Regions from separate parts of the Homo sapiens genome. Here region 2 is linked to region 1. Evidence: promoter capture Hi-C in human tissues and cell types (Jung and others, 2019). All regions are on one chromosome and are shown on one strand. The core of a region is centred on a gene start or on the middle of the fragment in contact, and the rest is flanking DNA. Distances in the headings are between cores, read along the strand shown. Region 1 holds the start of GNG7 (G protein subunit gamma 7). Region 2 holds the start of TLE6 (TLE family member 6, subcortical maternal complex member).

Evidence for each region. Contacts are between HindIII fragments. The study calls those that stand out against the background at their distance.
Region 2: the fragment with the promoter of TLE6 here is called in contact with the fragment with the promoter of GNG7 in region 1 in 2 of the 25 tissues and cell types used here (adrenal gland and dorsolateral prefrontal cortex).

Annotation. Positions count from the first base shown.
Region 1 is chr19:2,701,105-2,704,087 of GRCh38, reverse strand. GNG7 (G protein subunit gamma 7) reads left to right here and starts at 1,394. Exons shown (of 5, transcript NM_052847.3): 1 at 1,394-1,442. RefSeq lists a silencer at 1,109-1,498. The HindIII fragment of the contact is 6,266 bases long and covers 1-2,983 here.
Region 2 is chr19:2,976,045-2,979,027 of GRCh38, reverse strand. TLE6 (TLE family member 6, subcortical maternal complex member) reads right to left here and starts at 1,464. Exons shown (of 17, transcript NM_001143986.2): 1 at 1,418-1,464; 2 at 744-830. The coding sequence starts at 794. RefSeq lists a silencer at 1,433-1,742. The HindIII fragment of the contact is 31,192 bases long and covers 1-2,983 here.

The DNA.
Region 1 (2,983 bases), core at 145-2,644:
CTCTTGGGGGATGCCAGCTGGGGAGAGCCTGGAGGAGGGCAAGCAGGGAGATGGAGGTTTCTCTGTGCCCTGCAGGGCAGGCCACTGGAGTCCAGAGGATGAGCAGGGAGGTTCTTGCAGGGATGACAGGAACCCTGGGGAAGTTTATCTTGGATTTTGGCCAGCAGCTCCAATCCCAGGGCTCAGGTGGGGCGGCAAGGACACACAGTGTCAGCGCCTGATGAAATCCCTGAGGTCACAGAATATGGTGGCTCCATCTTCCTTCCAGGGCTGTGTACTGCTTTTGGAGACATACAAAGTGTTTTCCAATATTCCCAAGGGAGCTTGTGGAAAATGAAGATTCCAGGCCTGTAATCCAAGCATTTTGGGAGGCAGAGGCAGGAGAATCACTTGAGCCCAGGAGTTCAAGACCAGTTTGGGCAACATAGCAAGACCCCATCTCTAACAAAAAAAAATTAGCCAGGGCCAGGCACGGTGGCTCACGCCTGTAATCCCAGCACTATGGGAGGCCAAGAAAGGTGGATCACCTGAGGTCAGGAGTTGGAGACCAGCCTGGCCAAAACGGTGAAACCCTGTCTCTACTAATAATACAAAAATTAGCTGGATGTGGTGGTGCGTGCCTGTGGCCCCAGCTACCCGGAAGGCTGAGGTGGAAGGACTGCTTGAGCCTGGGACTTCAAAGCTGCAGTGAGCTATGACTGCACCACTGCAGTCCAGCCACGGCAATTGAGTGATACCCTGTCTCAAAAACAAAACGAAAACTAAACAAAACACAGATTTCAGGGTCCAGTTCCCTATAGGATTCTGGTTCATTCCATCTGTGTTGGGGCTCAGGAATTTGTGGATCCAGGGCCATGAGTTAGGAAACTGAGAAATCTTGGAAATGATGAGACAGGCTTGGGCAAATGACCTTAGGTTTCACCTTTCTGAGACCCAGTTTCCACCTCTGTAAAATGTGGATAGTAATCTCGCCTTCTGGCCTTATGCGGAGGGTCCCACGAGAGGGAGCCTATAAAGTCTTCAAGAAAGCGGTGCAGCAGTTATGATCACTGACATTCTTCCCCAGCAAATGAGCCCCCGGAGCTGGCATGCAGGATTCGAACCAGCTCACCTAGCGCGGGATTCGAACTCGCGAAACTACTCGCGCCTTCCTGACGTCACGAAGTCACCCTGGAAAGCCGCTCTTCGCCCCGCCCCCGGCCCCGCCCGCGCCCGGAGCCCCGCCCCACTCTCCTGGGCGCAGCCTACCCCGCTGCCTGCCCCGCGCCCCGCCCCCGCTCCGGCCTCCCGCAGCCGGGGCTCGCGATTGGCCTTGCCGGGACGCCAGGGCCCGCCCCCCGAGTGTCGGCCCCGCCCCCGCAGAGGGGAGCGAGCGCTCGCGGGCCGGGGCGGAGGGTTCGGCTGCGCGGCGGGGCTGAGGCGGCCGCGGGGCCCGAGCGCAGGTAAGGGCGCCCGCGAACCGGGCCAGGGGAAGTGAGGGCGCGGCCGGCGTCCCGGAGAGGGGACTGGGACAGCTCGGATTCGGCTGCGGACCGAGTTGGGGGTCGGAGTCGGCTGAGGAGGGGGGCTGGGTCTGGGGACCCGGGCTGCAACTGGAGGCTGGGGTTGGAATTGGGGACGGGGCTGCGCTTAGGGGGTCGAAGTTAGCTGGGGAGGGGCTGGGGTTGGGGATTGGGACTGCACTTGGGGCTCAGGGCTAGCTGGGGAGGGGGCGGGAGTTGCAGGTCGAGGTTAGCTGGGGACGGGGCAGGGGGTGCAGATCGAGGTTAGCTGGGGAAGGATTGGGTCTGGGCATTGGGACTCCACTTAGAAATCAGGGCCAGCTGGGGAGGAGGCTGGAGTTGCAGGTCCAGGTTAGCTGGGGAGGGGGCTGGAGGTGGGATTGGAGGTCTGAGTTAGCTGAGGAGGGGGCTGGGGGTGAGACTGGAGGTCTGAGTTATCTGGGGAGGGGACTGGAGTTGCAGGTCGAGGTTAGCTGGGGAGGGAGCTTGGAGCGGGATTGGAGGTCTGAGTTGGCTGGGGAGGGGTCTGGAATTGCAGGTCCAGGTTAGCTAGGAAGGGGCTGGTGGTGGAATTGGAGGTCTTGAGTTTGCTGGGGAGGGGGCTAGAGTCGCAGGTCGAGGTTAGCTGCCGAGGGGGCTTGGAGTGGGATTGGAGGTCCAAGCTAGCTGGGGAGGGGGCTGGAATTGTAGGTCGAGGTTAGCTGGGGAGGGGGCTGGAAGTGGAATTGGAAATCTGAGTTAGCTGGGGAGGACGCTGGGGATGGTGTTGGGGGTTGAGGTTAATTGGAGCGGGGAACAGGGGTTGAGTCAAGGGTGCAGCTTCTTTGAAGAGGGAGCTGGGAGTGGGGTTGAGGTTTGCAGGGAGCTGGAGAGGGGGCTGGGGATGGAGTTTGAAGTGGGGTTCATTGGAGAGGGGGCTGCAGAGGGAATTAGATGTTGAGGTTGTCTGGGGAGAGGACTGAGGAATGGGGTTGGTGAAGATGGGGGGGTGTGATTGACGGCCCAGGGGTTAGGGTTAGCTGAAAAGGGGCAGAAGGACAAAGCTGGGGTGAGCCAGGGAGTGGCTGGAGCATACAGGTGGGGGTCAGGCTTGTTCCAGAAAGGGTCTGGGGGCTATCAGGGGAAATGGGGAGCTTGTGAGTGTGTGGGGTGGAAGGGGGTTCAGGGAGAAGGAAGTTGGGGTGAGTTAGTGAGAAGGGAGGTGGGGGTAAGGTCCCAGGCTGGAGACACCTGGGGGCAGGTGTTTTGCTAGACATTGACTAATCAGGAGGAAAACGGGGTGTGGGGAGGTGTCTCAGGTAGGATCCAGTTAAAAGGAATTTGGAGAGGACTCACCCCTCTACTTTTGGGGGAGATGTTAATTGTTTGCTCTAGAACTGGGCACGGGGCAGAACCCCCTGGGGAACAGTGAGTTGAAGGAGACGGGAGTTCGGAATACTTTTTGAGGTTTATTTCTAGGATATAGGGTGCCAAGGAGAACG
Region 2 (2,983 bases), core at 215-2,714, 270 kb before region 1:
GTGAGCTGAGATTGCGCCATTGCATTCCAGCCGAGGTGAGTGTGAGACTCCGTCTCAAACATAATAAAATCATAAAGTCTCAAAACAAAATATCCCTCATCTGACTCCTTTACAAAAAAAAACGTCTGCTCAGCCCTGAGAGCCTAAATTTACAAATGGTCATCTCTGGGACGCAAAGTGCAGGGAGCGGGGATTGCTTGTAAAACATCAACCAAATACATGATGTGTTCCTGTGTTTTTATCACATATGTGATTAGATGCTACATTTTTTTTTAGATGGGATCTCACTGTCACCAAGGATGGAGTGCAGTGGCACCATCATAGTTCACTGCAGCCTCAAACTCCTTGGGCTCAAGCCAACCCTCTGCCTCAGCCTCCCAAGTAGCTGCAACTACAGGCCCACGTCACTAGGCCCAGCTGATTCTTCTAGTTTTATTTTTTACAGAGACAGGGTCTCACTACGTTGTCCAGGCTGGTTTCAAACTCCTGGGCTCAAGTGGTCCTCCTGCCTCGGCCTCCAAAAATGTTGAGATTACAGTTGTGAGCCACAGTGTCCAGCCTACACTTAATTTTTTTTAAAAAACACGGCTCCTTGGCACCTGTCTTGAGTGTAGCAGCGACCAGTATTGTCTTCAGCTGCGAGGCCTGGGCGGGGCCAGCCCAGGTCACAGGTGGAAAAGGGGCAGAACCACATTGGGCCCGGGTTTCCCTTGAGGGCTGATCCCACCACATGCCCTCCTCACCGAAGTGCTTTTCGGGGGGCCCTTGGGTCTGGGCTGGTCCCTAGAGGTCATCTTCAAGGCAGTAGCCTCCAAGACTTTAGCCAGAGTCTAAAACAACAAGGAGACGGCAGGTCTTGAGGGACAGAAAATAAGGCAGTGCCAGGGAAGCAAGGCACCCGTTACCCCACCCGCACCTCCCAGTTTGGTAAGTCTCCAGGGACCCAATCCTGCGGTTCTCCCATGCGTTCCCTAGGTCCTGTCCTCACTTATCAATGCCTCCAGCTGCCCAGATTCATGGGGGCGGGGACCCAGAAAGAACTGAGCCTTGCCTCCCAGGCCTCACCCTAGGAGGCTGGGGTGGATAGTGCACATACACTCCCTGCTGGGGGCAGTCAGGGACGGGGGAGCCCAGGGAAGGTCGCCAAAGCTCAACCTTAGTTTTGAGACAATTTCCTAAAGCGCAGGGAGATCACTAGAAAGGGGTTTTGAAGGATGACTAGGAGTTAGCCAGGTGCATTAGGCGGAATTCATCAGACAGAAGAAACGACCTCTCTCCACCTCCATCCCTGCTGCAGCACCCAGCTTCTTCCTTGCCTCAGTCCTGCCCCTCCACGCCCCTGCAGCCCCTTCCCCGGCCGGGAATCCTGGAGTCCCCCCAGCCCCCTAGAACACGCCTGGCAACTCACGTCCCTCACCGGGCGGAAGCTGCGGAGGTCAGCCAAGTTCAGGCCAAGAGGAAACTCCTCCTTCCCCCACCGGGGGCCATTTGACCCATCGGGCCCCGCCTCGTCCCGCCTTGTCCCCGCCCCGTCCCGCCCAGGCCCCACCCAGCCGCCACCTGGACCGCGAAGCAGATCAATGAAGGCGCAGTAGCTGCACGTGGGTTCGGGCTCCGGGGGGGGCAGGCCTCTGGCGGCGCCGGCCAATAGCGAGGCCGTTTACGCACGTGGGTCGCGTACGCCCTCCCTGATTGGTCGGCTCTCCCCGGCCGCCGGCCATGCTGTCACTCAGCGAGCCGGGAGCCTCTGCTTTACCCTTTCGGTCCCGCTGCCGGGAAGGGCGGACTTGCAGAGCTATAGGCAATTTGGGGTCCCAGCGGGGGCGGGGATATTTAGGAGGGCGTGGGGCTTGAGGCTCAGAGGCTGGAACTTGGGCAGGGATAGGTGGCGAGTAGTTGCATTGTTTTACGCATTTTTAGCCTTGTCCGGAAGTGGCTTATGGCTGGAGGTGAGGAGTGGGAGGTGGGTGGGTTCAATCTTTAGCGCTGTCACCCCAATTCTTAGATACGGGCTAATTACATTTTCCTCAATATTAAATAACGTGCAATGCAAACGAAGCTTCAAGTCCTCTTTCTGGAGCCAACTTACTGGGTCCCCTTGATGGTCCCAGCCCCGGGCTATGCATTTATCACCGAATTTTCCCAACTGCTCTTCCAGCCCAGTGACAAAGGCTCTGAGAGCAGAAAGCGGGACAGCAGAGGCCCTGAGGCTGATACAGTATTGCCGGATGCAAGCGCGGGGTGGGAGAGAGTGGTGGGTATTCCAGACGGAGGGAATAGCGGAACCTCTCAGGCAGAGCTGGGCTGGTTACAGGAGCAGCCAGGGAGGCTAACGGGGCTGCGTGCACTCCGAACAGGCCTGGGATGATTTCCGAGAGGTAAGTGGGTTGCTGCAGAGCGAGAGAAACCTGCTGTGTGGGGTCGTGGGGATAGGAGTAAGGGGATTTCGGAGTTTTGTTTTGGCCTATTCAAAATATGAAGCCAAGTCACCATGGCTCACACCTGTGATCCCAGCATTTTGGAAGGCTGAGGTGGGAGGATTGCTTGAGGCCAGGAGTTGGAGACCAGCCTGGGCAACACAGTGACACCGCGTCTCTACAAAAAATTTAAAAATTAGCCAAGTGTGGTGGTCATGCACCTGTAGTCTCAGCTACTGGGGAGGCTGAGGCAGGAGGATGGCGTAAGCCCAGGAGGTTGAGTCTGGAGTGAGCTATGATCGTGCCACTGCACTCCAGTCTGAGCAACAGAGCAAGACTCCATCTCAAAAAAATATATAGCTATAATATATATAAAGTATATATATTATATATATAGTGGTCAAGCTGCAGTTCTGGAGTGAGAGCCCGTTTCTTTCTGTTTGGCCCAGGACCTGGTACTGGCATTAGCAGTTCACTCTGCCAGGGACAGTCTCTCTCAGACAGCCACCGGCTGGCTCCTTACTCCCTCAGCTCCCTACTTAGAAATCACCACGTTGGGCCAGGTG